Regions from separate parts of the Homo sapiens genome. Here region 2 is linked to region 1. The links are contacts of gene promoters, found by promoter capture Hi-C in human tissues and cell types (Jung and others, 2019). All regions are on one chromosome and are shown on one strand. The core of a region is centred on a gene start or on the middle of the fragment in contact, and the rest is flanking DNA. Distances in the headings are between cores, read along the strand shown.

Region 1 (6,653 bases), core at 2,848-5,347:
GCCCTTCTCTCTGGATGTGAGGGTCATAAAACTTTGTTAGAAGAAGCACTATGAAGGAACTCTTGAAAAAAATAATAAAGGAATTTGTCATGGCAATAAGACAGGGTTCTTCCTAGGGAAGTGAATGTGCAAAGGCTTGGAGACTTCTAAATTATTTCTTTAAAGATTTTACTTGAGAGTTTTGAGTTGCTATAATCCCTGGGAATTCCCCACTTGCTAACCAGGACCCTGTGTGTCAGCGGGGAAAGCGATTTTCCCAAAGTCACACAGCGAGTTGATGCAGCATCAAGACTTAGACACTCAACCAATGCTCTCCACTCTGCTGTGCTGACCAGGCATGACTTCTTGGTTGATGGCGCAGCTAAATTGCCATAGTCCATCCATCAGAGAAGCTCTCATATGTCTTGCCACACACTCCATATGGTCTTTGAACTTGATTTTGTCCTTTGTTGTCGAAGGAAAAGCAAGAAGAGTTGGAAAAGACCACTCAACAATGATCTGCAAGCAAGTTGGGAAACCTTGACTCTAACAAAATGCATTTAATTAAATGACTGGCCCACTGTGTGGGATCAGAGATCCATCCCGGCTTTGGAAAAGATTTCTGGTAATTATGGAGTCACATGAGACTTTTGGACTGGAGTTAGCACACCAGATGAGATGAATCCCGGGAAGAGGAGGAGGAAGGTTGGGAACAGTGAAGGAGTATGTAATCAGAGTAGGAAGCAGGGGATTCCATGGGGAAGTGGACACTCAGCTTCCTCAGCACTAGTCCTGGCCAAAATTCCACTCATTGTCTGTTCTGTCTGGAAGAAAAAGTATTACATTTAACAGACCTTTAAAGAAATGAGAATGATCTCACCTGAGGCAAACCATGACATTCCTCTGGTCTCTAAACCACAGCCTCCACCAGCAACTCCTGAATAAGAACTGCAAACAAGCAACAACAAAATCAGTCTTTGGCAGGAAGCTCTGTGCAGGGGTGGTGTTTACATGCATTCATTCTACCCTCTCAAGTGGAAAAAAGTGCTTATGCTTCTCAGAAGGATGCAACCATGAGGGATTAGATGCCAAGAGGTATGGCCTCTGCCAAACAGGAGGAAAAATGGTTCTTCATTTCCATAAACTTCCTCTGCTGTAATGTCTAGTGTGGCTTGGTTGCTCAGTTCTGATTGTGACAGTTTTCTTCCTGGAAAGCAGGCATAGTGGCTTCAGACAAGTCATTCTTCCTCTCAGCACCCCACTTTCTGATCTGTGCGATGGAAGCATTGGACACAATAATCCAGTTTCCTTTTCAGGTTCTATGGTTGTAAAAGGAAGAATTTAATTATAAAGCACAACATGTCAAACATTTATTTGTTCCTCCATTACTTCATTCATTCTATAAACATTTACTGAGCTTCTATGATACCCAAGGCTCTATGCCAGGTACAGAAAAAGCAAGTGTGATCACCAGCCTCAGGAAGCCTAGCATCTAGGAGGAAAATCTAGACATGCACATGTGTAATTATACCATGTAGATGCAATGGATGTCCTAATAGAGTTACAAATGCCATAGTGCATAGAAACATCTCTTCCTAGATGGATTTCTTCCATTTAGGAAGCTCCATAGTGAAGTCAGATCAGAAATGGATGATAAATAGATGTGAGGGCATGGAGGTGAGGAGCCTAGGGCATCATCCTAGCATGAACAAAGTTTGGGTATTGTAGAGTACCTGGTGCATATGGACCCATCTACCAGAAACAGAGGCTGCGAACAGTACAGGGATGGAAAACACGTCCTCGTCTGGGCACTCCTTACTCAAATGCCAAAAAGCTTAAGATGCCACATAGCTTTTTGGAGAAAATGCCTTTTACAAGTAGCCTCTCCTAAAAATGCATAAATCATCTCTTCTCTATGTTATCAGAATACACTTATATGATAGTTGTTAACTTAACCCATAATAGTATTCTTGTTTGTCACCTCTGCTAGCCTTTTCCTGCTTTGAGGGCCAGCCTGGTCATATTTGGCTTAGTTTCCCTGTGATTGACCATACCACTTGTGGTAGACACTAATCAACGATTGTAGAATCCTAAAGAACTGGGGAGAGGAGTTCGAGTTTGAGACATTCCCCGAAAAAGCCATATCTATCTAGTTTTCTAGCATGCGCTCTTGTCTTATTTAAAAACTCACATAGAATTATAAATATATTGATTATATGTTCTATACAAATATAGTTTATATACCATATGACATATATTGTACACTATTCTAATATTTTAATCCCTAACCCAAGAGATTAACTCAGTAGGAACCACTCACTGCTGGTTGAGACACAGCTTCATGCTACTGAAATATCCTTTGGCTAAAGCACAGAATTTAAAACTTCCCAAACAACCAACATTTGAATCAGCCAAAATGGATCAAAAGTTCAAATGAGCGGTTTTATGACATGACTATTTATGGGCTTTCTTGCTGTCTGGGAGGGTCACTTTAGCAGAGAATCCTAAAATACTACAGCCAAAGCAACCGTAGGATGACCTAATCGTGTCTTGCTTTTTTTTTCAGATGGGGAAACTGAGGCCCACAGCAACAATAATAACTGTGGGGATGATATCATTTAATATTGAAAATAAGTGGATAATTGAGACCTCCATTATTAGTAGTTAATTTTTAAAAATCAAAGATCTCTCCTAATTAGCTTTATGGAGCAAATAAATATATTTTCCATATTCAAATATGGCTGTGATTTCTACACAAATGGTGTTAACAATCTAATACAGCATAAAACATTGTTTAAATATCATCATACCCTATTCCTAAACAGTAACGTGTAATAGATCTCTGGAGCCCAGTGTTGTAATATAAACACTTCCCAGGTGTATTCCCTTGGTAAAGTTTCATTACTTCTCTAAACGTCAGTTTTCTTGTGTAAAAAAGAGACACTTGTGTCTATCCTACTTACTGGTTACAAGGATATAATAAAAATAGTGAACAAAAATAGTGTTCATAAAGTACCCTGCACAGCACCTGATTATAGACTTAATAAGGGAGGGCTCAATGGTAGTTGCGTTTTGAATTACATTTAATGCTTCATTTTACTTCACTGTCACAAACTACTATGCTCTGCGGCAGGCTCAGAAGTCTCTAGGCACGGGTGAAGTGCTACTTCTCCACTCCCTTAAATGCCCCTGTATGCCCTGAGGATACTCAATGCATGCTAACCACCAAACGAACGGATGACTCAGAGCTTGGAGGAAATCCACGGCAGGCTGGAAAGCAAAGGCGCAGCTTATGGCTCAAGGATTAGGTTGTTACCTTTTTAAATTATTGCTTTTCTTTAAAGAAAGGGCTGTGGGGGACGCCTTTCAGCACTAAGAGAAAACCTCAGAAATCCTTCCCCCTGGAGACCCAGCTGAGAAGACCACACCAGGCACAGGGCATGAACAATGTCAAAAAGCTACTGCCCTGCAGGACACTGGGGCTGGAACAAAGATGCCTCCCAGCAGCTGGGCAAGGCTGGCTCCCACACAAGAAAAGCAGGGCTGATGTGAGCGTCCCGCACGATCCCCACCTGCTGAGACCTAATCCTGGGTTATCTCTCCGCTGGCCCAGAGAAACCTGAAACCCCCCAGGCTTTTGAAGGGCTTTATCTCCTCTTTCCAGGAACTGGGCTCAGTCCCTGTACTCGCTCCGAGGTGCCACTGAGCAGCTGCTGCCCAGAGCCCAGGCGAGCCCTGGTCCCATTTCCAGCTTGACCAAGTACAAGAGGGGAGCCAGGGCTGCGGATCCTACTCCCTCTTGCTCCCCAGGCATCCGTCTCACAATTAGAAAACCCGTGTGGGGAGCAAAGCAAAAATCACATTTCACTAACAGCTACTCGGGGTCGGGGGCGGGCAGGCGGGAATTCCTACTTTCGCCATAAATTGTATGCAAATGGGTTCCTTCCCTGGCCGAGAGCCAGGAGTGAGTGCGTCTTTCATGAGCTAACCCTGTTCCGCTGGGAGGGCTGTTCCTTTAATTCGCCAACTGAAAAAGTGGGAAAGGATGTCTGGAGGCGAGGCGTCCCATTACAGAGGAAGGAGCTCGCTATATAAGCCAGCCAAAGTTGGCTGCACCGGCCACAGCCTGCCTACTGTCACCCGCCTCTCCCGCGCGCAGATACACGCCCCCGCCTCCGTGGGCACAAAGGCAGCGCTGCTGGGGAACTCGGGGGAACGCGCACGTGGGAACCGCCGCAGCTCCACACTCCAGGTACTTCTTCCAAGGACCTAGGTCTCTCGCCCATCGGAAAGGTAAGTCTGTTTTGCCCTCATCACTAGAGATCCTTATGATGTAAGGATTGCATTCCTGGTACCAAATGAGTTGTGATTTTATATTATAATTACAAAACATATGGGGTTTTTTTTTCCACCGCTGGAAAAAAAAGGAGTGTGTATTGGTTATATCAGATGCACCTTGACTTTTCTGGTCTTGTAATTTTGTTTGTTTTAACTTTATGAATAGTCAGACTTGGAAGGAACTTTTCGTAAAGTTGTTATCTTCTGCTGTTCTGCAGAGGAAAAGTAAAAATTTTCTCTTCAACTGCTCTCCTACTTCTAGTCTGGCTGATTCACCTGTATATATCTTTTATTTTGAGGGTTAGGGCAGTAGAGTTTTAAGGCAGACTTTGCTCATAGCCTGCCCCTGGGATGGGTTAGAGGGAGTTTGATAGAGGAGTGCAGGGAGAATATAAAAGTTTATATCTAAACAGCACTTACATAAAGTTTACAAAGAGTTTTGTACCCATTCCCTCATTTGGTCCTCAAAATATTCACCCTGGAAATGAGAGCTGGGGGACAGAAGAGAGGAGGTGGCTCCTGGGCCAGATGAATAACTGACAGGCAGCTAGAGAGTGGTGGAGAACAGCTTTACTGGGGTGCCTAGAGCCAGCAGCGTCCCACATGTCTCTAGAATCACCTCCTCCTCCTCACCTCTCATCACAGAAAGATCTGAGCAACAACATCCCCCAGGTATGGGAACCCTGCTGCCCCTGGTGTACTTTGGAAAGAACACAGGGGTTCTTCTCACCCATCAGTGTTGTAAGAGGAATAAGAGCTTAGGTTTGAAGCCAGAGGTGTTTGGTATTCTCCCCACCACCATACATATGACCCTGAGAAAGATACATCACTTCCTTAATCCTCAGTTTTCACATCTCTAAAATGGGGACAATAGCGTCTGCTGTCGTTTTGAGGAGAAAATGAGGTATAGAAAGATCAGCAATGACTGCTTAATAACTGGAAGTTTGGATAATCATTGTCATTGCCAAAAACTGCCATCACTCTGGAAGTTAAAAGAGGCATTGAGCCAGTCTTGGATTGTTTCTTGTGTGTTGTTCCTCAGCCCGCCCCCAGCCCCCGCTTTTTATCTCACCCAATCTGAGGGTGTCTCACTAGGCTGGCAGGTCTGAGACTTGGCTGTATTTTACAAGCAGGAGGTTGTGTTGGCACAGGTTGGAGAAAAGGTAGTAGCCCGGGGCTGGAAGTTAATGTCAAATTTTGATTCCAGAATGTCAGGAGGTTTTGAGTTTAGGCATCTGCAGATTCTAAAGCTGACAGCTATGAAGTACGATGCTGTTGGAAACTCTTTGGAAAAGCTTTCTGTCCGGAGGGAGGGCAGGACAGGGAGCACCACTTGAAGAATGAATGCCTCTTTTTCATGTTTTTGTAGACTTTTTCCCCCATTTTTACAGAGCTTTCCCATATGTGTTTTAGAAAGGAAAACTACTATCCATCCCAGCCAGGCAAGCCCAATTCAGGACTGAAGAAGATTTATTCAGTCCTAGACAACCAAGTGAAGAGTTTCTGGCTTTGTGCGCATACAAGTCATTTGCAGGAGATGTAAGTCAGCGTGCTTTGGCCCTTGCATTTCAGGAAGGTGACTGCTTTGTGGGGAAGAAAAAGGTGCACAATATGAGTATTCTCTGGTTTGCTCAAACAGGGTAAATTGGACAAGGATTGAAAGGGATGTTGCCAAGCTCTACAGTCATTAAATATTTTTTTCCTCTATGCTTTGTTTTAAAAACCTAGCTTCTCTATTTTATCCCACACTAACCTCCTCCTTCCCCACTCTAAGAAGTGACTAACGTTTCAGCCCTCAACTTTGTCATTCATATAATGGAGATGACAAACTATGTCTCACAGGGCTCTTGCAACATTCAAATGAGGTAATATATGGCAAACACTTGGCATAGTACCTTCCACATATTAAGGGTTCAATAAATGGAAACTTTTCTTAGTTTCTCTGTTTATCATTTTACAAGGACTTGTCCAAGATTAATATTCTAAGATCATGATTTTTAAACTTATTTTTAATGATGAAAATATTCATTACATGAATTTAGGGCAAACCCCCAGTATATGACAGGTAAATGCAGGGCTGCTTTGGTTGAAGTGGGGTCACAAGGTCTAAAACTTACACCTTTGCTCTTAGCCTCTGGGACATTGCCACAGAATCTTCAATGACAAAAAGCACATTTACAAATCATGAAACCAGGCTGTGTGCATTCTGGTTGCCATTCTGCCCTTCAACAAGGATTTTTGCCCCTCTGAGTCACCATCTGTAGCAGAAGTAAGAGCAAGTCCACAAATAGTGTAATAGACAGGAATATGAATGAGAAATAAAAGACTTAACAAAG
Region 2 (6,310 bases), core at 2,995-5,494, 210 kb before region 1:
TGTCTGAGATGTTGTTTGTAAATGTTCTCTGAAACATCAACAAGACCTTTCATAAGGTGGCTACCAGGGAGCATGGGAACTTGCCTGTCACAAGCAACAAAAATAAACCCCTCATCTGCAGAGTTATCTCCATCCAATTGCTATCACTCTAGTCTGGGCCTTCACTGGCTGTTGCCTTGCCCACTACAGTAACAGCCCACATAGTCTCCTTGCTGCCGCTTTTATAGCCCTATAGCCCATTCTCCACTTGGCAGCTAGAGAAACTCTTTAAAAATAAAATTATGGAGCTAGAGGTCATTATCCTAAGTGAAATGACTCAGAAACAAAAAGTCAGGTACTATATGTTCTCACTTATACGTGGGAGCTAAACAATGGGTACCCATGGACATACAGTGTGGAAGACAAGACATTGGAGACTCCAGAAGGTGGGAGGGCAAGAGGGGGATGAAGGTTGAAAAACTACCTATATGGTACAGTGTTCATTAATTGGGCGATGAGTATGTGGGAGCTAAACAATGGGTACACATGGACATACAGTGTGGAAGACTAGACACTGGAGACTCCGGAAGGTGGGAGGGCAAGAAGGGGATAAGGGTTGAAAAATTACCTATATGGTACAGTGTTCACTAATTGGGTGATGAGTACATGGGAGCTAAACAATGGGTAAATATGGACGTACAGTGTGGAAGACTAGACATTGGAGACTCCAGAATGTGGGAGGGCAAGAGGAGGATGAGGGTTGAAAAATTACCTATATGGTACAGTGTTCACAATTTGGGTGATGAGTACACGAAAAGCCCAGACTTCACCACAATGCAGTACATCCATGTAGCAAATTTGCACTTGCACCCCCTAAATCTATAAAAATAATAAATTATCAATCAATCAATCACATCTCATTTTTTCCTCTCTGTCCCCAGTCAAAACCCATTTAGTATAAAACTCAAACTCTTTACTCCTACTTCCAAAGCTCAATGGTCTTATTTCTGTCTACCCATCCCAACTCAACCTGTACCACTCTGTCTTACTCACTCTACTTCAGCCATAACAGGACTCTCAGTGCTCAAACTGCACCTGGTCCCATCCTCAGAGTCCTTGAAGCAGAAGATTCCCTTTGCATAGGTTCTTCTCTTTTCTGAACTTTTATATGCCAAGTTCCCGTTGTTCGATCTCAGATCTTCAGAGGCCTTTCTTGTCCACCTAATTTAAACTACCTGGCATATTATATTGGATTGAGCCAAATGACATTCCTGTTTTGTAGGTTAAATACATATTAGAAGTTTCATAAGGTTTAACCCGATAGGGTCTCTATACATATGTTTCACGACGTGAGAGTTTTTACATATAGATGTGTTGCTTATACTGTTTTTATATAATGAGAAGCACTATGTCTGACACATAGTAAGGTAAATTAAAGGTAGTTGCTGATTTTATCATTATCATCATCATCATCATCATCATCATTCTAAACCACGTAAGAAGATGTAGAAATAAATATGTAGGAACAGAGGAAACCTCATTGTTGCACTGGTTTGGGATACAGGAGAGAAGAGGTCTGAGATTAGATCTTTCATTGCTGCCCAACTTTGTGATCTTGGATCAGGCAGTATCTGTTGGAGATAACACAAGGGCTAGATTTTCAAATTAGACCCACAAGAATAAAATATTTTACCAAGTATCAAACTTTACTAATAATGTCAAAGCTATAAGTAATCACAAGGTACAGGGAACATAGGGAAAAGCCCAGGACTGCCAATACTACTCCACAGCCCTTTTCTTACCACATTAGGACTTGGTCTGATTCGGATTTAACATATGGTTCTCCAAAAGATGTACACAAGTACATTACTTGCACGAAATGAAAGCCAGCTTTTTTAACCCTGAAGTAGTTCCATCTCCTGCCATAGTTACATAGCTTACTTGACACTTTTCAAGAAGCCATTACCCATGAATCCTTAGATTCCAGGTTTGTTTACCATATACAATTCTACTACGGGGGTAAGGTTCATGCTGCTAAAAGTCTCTCAAAGATAAAGACTGCCACTAACAAATATCATTAGTGGTTTTCCCCAGAGTCTTCACAGCATGTTTACAAGGAGATTTGATCAGCCAGATTTCTTCTCCAAGGGAATTCCCAGAGAAAGGAAGGAATGCACAGCAAGCCTGGATAAACCTTTTCTTCCCAATTCTTTAGGCTGCAGTTCCTTCATCTATGAAGTGAAAATCTTGCTCACTATATCTGAGGACCCAAAGTGTTCTAAATCTCATTAGACCTACAACAAGGGAAACCATTTTCTGCTGCTGCATATACTAGGCAGAAGCTAAGTAAACAGCATATAGCAGAAGAGACTCTCTACCATGGAAATTGTTAAACTCAACCCAAAAGGCACTTTCTTACTTAAAGGTTACTCAAACCGGGCACGGTGGTTCACACCTGTAATCCCAGCACTTTGGGAGGCCGAGGCGGGCAGATCACCTGAGGTCAGGAATTCGAGACAAGCCTGGCCGACATAGTGAAACCCTATTTGTACTAATGAAACAAAAATTAGCTGGGCATCATGGCGGGCACCTATAAGCCCACCTACTCAGGAGGCTGAGGCAGGAGAATCACTTGAACCCTGGAAGCAGAGGTTGCAGTGAGCCAAGATCATGCCATTGTACTCCATCCTGGGCGACAAGAGTGAAACTCCATCTGAAAACAAACAAACAAACAAACAAAAAAGTTACTCAGCAAGCAGGTTAATGAAAAGAGTATAAACTCTGGAATCAGAAGCCTGAGTACAAGCCTCAGCTCAAGAATTTAAAGACTGCAGGTCTTTGAGGAAGTTGCCCAAACTGACCAAGCTTCTGTTTCCTCACCTGTTAGAGGAGAATCATGATATTTATCTCCTGAGTTCTGGCAAGTTTTAAAGGAGATGATGCACGTCAATGCCAAGCTCCATGACTGGCATAAAATCATTGGTAGTGATGAAGTCATTTATCCATTTATGCCACTGTATGCAATGTCCACAGTGTACAAAAATTGAATAAAATGATGGAGTTAGGCATACCCTTGAGAGCAGCGCAGATGGAGTAGGAGTTAGGCATACCCTTGAGAGCAGCGCAGATAGACCATTAGCCACTCATGTCTCCCATTCCCACCATCTAGCGCCAACCCATTCAGACAACACAGCATTCAGAACAAACATCCTGAGCCACAGATCTGAACCACTCTGTTGCTTAAAACTGTGCAATAGCTCTCAATCTCCTTAAAGATAAATCCTAACCTCTTCATTCCATGTATAAGGCTCTGAGTGATCATTTTCCTTTCCCAACCACCATGATTAGTAAAGGTAGACTAAGCACTAGAATGAATAATCCCCAAATTTTATCAGCATAACACAATAAAAGTGTGTCCACTGAGAGAGGGGTGATTGCCTGGGGCAATAATTCAGAGACCTTGTTTTCTTTGGTCTTCTGGGTCCTTTGGGTTCTGAGTTCTCTTTGTCTGCCAGAATATGGGGAGAAAGGAAAAGGATCAGTTATTGAAGGGTTGATGAGCCAGACTTGGTAGATGGGCATATAATTTCCTGTCCTATTCTATCATCCAGAAATGAAATCAGAATACTGCTTCACCTAATTACAAAGGAGGCAAAAAAAATAGATACTGATTAGCATTCTATTACCTTTCAGTTGACACTAGAGCAATTCTAGGCTCCTTCTATTTATCTGCCACACCATTCTCGTCCACCTCTCTCTGTGTTTTTGCCCCTGCTGGTCTCGTTGTCAATCATGTTTTAGATAAACTTCTTCTATGCTGAAGTTCTTGTCCAAGGATGATCTTCTCTTCAAGTCTTCCTTTACAAAGCCCCTTCCTTACTCAGAGAAAGACCTAATTGCTCATTCCTCCTTAGTACATCTAGACTTTGTACTAAGCCCTCTTTAGTACTTCTAGACACTCTGTCACTCTGCTCTGATGATTTTGTTCATACACTTGTCTCCCCTCTAGAATTTAGGCTCCTTCTCTGCAATTAGCAGAGACCTGTGCTAATTGAATCACAGCTGTCCCTTCTCCTCCCCCTCTCCTCACCCCATACAGCACATACCCTGGTGCTGAGTGAGCTGCATGGTGGGGAACTGCAATAACATCCAATGTCCCCAGAGAAATAGAGCTGAGTATTAGGAGCTAAGTTTAAGACAAACCACCTGGTTTTGAAGCCCAATGCTGCTGCATAATCTTGATCAAGTTGTTTGTTCTGATTCTCAGAAAAAAGAATGTCTATAAAACCAGAAGATTATTAGCTTCCCATATCAGATGGTTGTGAAGAGTTTATTAATTAATGAATATAAAGCTCTCAACATGGTACTTGCTACACACAAGGAACGCTAAATAAAATTCTACCTATCGCTATTATCATATCCTTCTGACCTATTTTGTGGATGGAAACAGAAAGGCTCTCCCCTGACTTTGAGAAGCCTTAAATTAGGACAGAGAAACTTGCCCTGTGGATATGTGGTCCCCAGAGAGTGACTCAGGCAGACTGAGGCCTTTGTGAGCTCCCATGGCCCTGGAAGCATTCCTTGAGTGAGGTCTGGCAAGGACAGGGAGAAGCTGACAACTTAAATGATTTAGTCTGCTCAGCAAAGTAAACGTGGCTCCAGGAAGTTAGAAGTAACTCAGAATGGAAGCTCCAAATGCCACTGGGTGGAGGAAATTTTTTTTTTTTTTCCAAACTCAATTTGTTTTCACTTAAACTGCTCCATTTCATCAACATGGCTCTTTGGAACATTGGCTAAATTCCCTAAAAATGTCTCTCTTTTTAAACGTTTTCCTCCCTCCTTCCTAGTTCCTCAAATGCAATAAAATTAAATACTTGGAACCCAAGAGAAAGCCCCCCAAAACATCAGATCAGCATAGGTGTCCATCAGGTATGTGTTTGCAAATTGATGGCAAAGTTGGGGCTATAGGTGTGGATGTAAAGTTGCTGTGAACAGCACAGTGACCACAGTTAAATCATTCCCTGAAATGGCCCTGCAGTTGATAAATTGCCTTCTCTTCACAAAGACCCTTTTATCCAGGTCAGTCCTGTGTGAGGCTTTCCATGCCTCCCCATTTAAGCCTCAGGAGGAAGGAAATAGACCTTCATCTATAGAGGAACAGAAGGTTTCTCAATCAAGAATCCAGGTTGCAACCCATTCTGCACTTACACATCTGGGAGATAGACACCCACTCCATTGCCGCACCAACATGACCGAGACAGGGGCCCAAAGCCAGAACATGCTGAGGGAGTTTCTTTCTTTATTGCCTGGAATGTCTTTTAAAATATAACAATAAACAAGAGAATCCTGCTTGTACTAGCTCATGAAAAGTTTTGACATAACCTAACCCTTTCAGTCCATAACCAACTCATACCAGACCAGCTCTGATTCTTTTTGAGTATGAACCATCCCAGTTTTAAAGCCATAGTTTTCTCTTCTGCAGAGGAAATCTATGTCAACAGTAAAAGACTACAGAAAGGATATCTTCCATTTGTTTTTCTGCTTCTTCACCTTTTCTTTTGTTTTTGTAAGAACTTGGCAGAGCTGATAAATTAAGCAGATTTTTCCATACAAGGGACACAAGGATTCATTGTAAACTACACGCAGGAGTTAACAGGACTATAGTAGCCTAGTTTAGGAAGATAATTTCACTTAATTTCATCACTGAATTGTTGAGCATTTACTATCTATGGATATAAAAAAAAGTGCAAAAGAATAAGAAAATAGTAACACCACCATTTTGTAGGTATTTTCCAACAACTGGCACTCTGTTGTAACTGTTACACAATCCTTCAAGATCTCCTTGTTCAGAGAAAATATAAGCTCCTAGAAGTTAGATACTTTGCTCAAGGACCTACAGATAGGACCAGGCAAAGCTATCAATCAATCCAGTTTCGGCTTATCAGATCCTAAAGCCCGTTCACACCTATAACTATGAATCTCCTCACCTTACTGTTATTTTTTTTTTGAAAAGACAGTATGATCTGCCTCTTGGGGCTGTTAGAAAGATTAGATGAAATATATTTTATGTGCCTATTATGTGATTGTATATGAAATTCCACCAGTGTAAAGTCTAAAACCTCAGCCATTTGGAGAAGTTCAAAGCAAGAGGGTGAGTGGATGAATCAAGGAGAGGAGCAGACCCTTCTCTGACTTCTCCACCCATCAATATCATCCTACCCTAAACTAGGCACGTAACATGGTTACTCGCTAACATAACACAGAAGGGCTAGTGATAGGTCTTAATTCTCAGACCTCTGGGAAATGACTACTACACAGCTGCTTCTAGTAA

What was found. The method cuts DNA at HindIII sites, captures the fragments that hold promoters and counts their contacts. A contact is called where the count stands out against the background at its distance.
Region 2: a contact is called between a fragment that was not itself captured here and the fragment with the promoter of TNC in region 1, in 6 of the 25 tissues and cell types used here (adrenal gland, heart left ventricle, mesenchymal stem cells and 3 more).

Annotation. Positions count from the first base shown.
Region 1 is chr9:115,115,601-115,122,253 of GRCh38, reverse strand. It overlaps TNC (tenascin C), which reads left to right and starts at 4,097. Exons shown (of 28, transcript NM_002160.4): 1 at 4,097-4,272. LOC124902255 (a long non-coding RNA gene) reads right to left here. Exons shown (of 3, transcript XR_007061746.1): 3 at 1-1,298. LOC101928748 (a long non-coding RNA gene) reads left to right here. Exons shown (of 6, transcript NR_110950.1): 6 at 2,546-2,715. RefSeq lists an enhancer at 2,999-3,818. The HindIII fragment of the contact is 7,931 bases long and covers 1-6,556 here.
Region 2 is chr9:115,326,685-115,332,994 of GRCh38, reverse strand. All of the region lies in intron 4 of DELEC1 (deleted in esophageal cancer 1), which reads right to left. Among named protein-coding and RNA genes, the nearest start is that of DELEC1, 190 kb to the right of the region's middle. The HindIII fragment of the contact is 6,146 bases long and covers 1,172-6,310 here.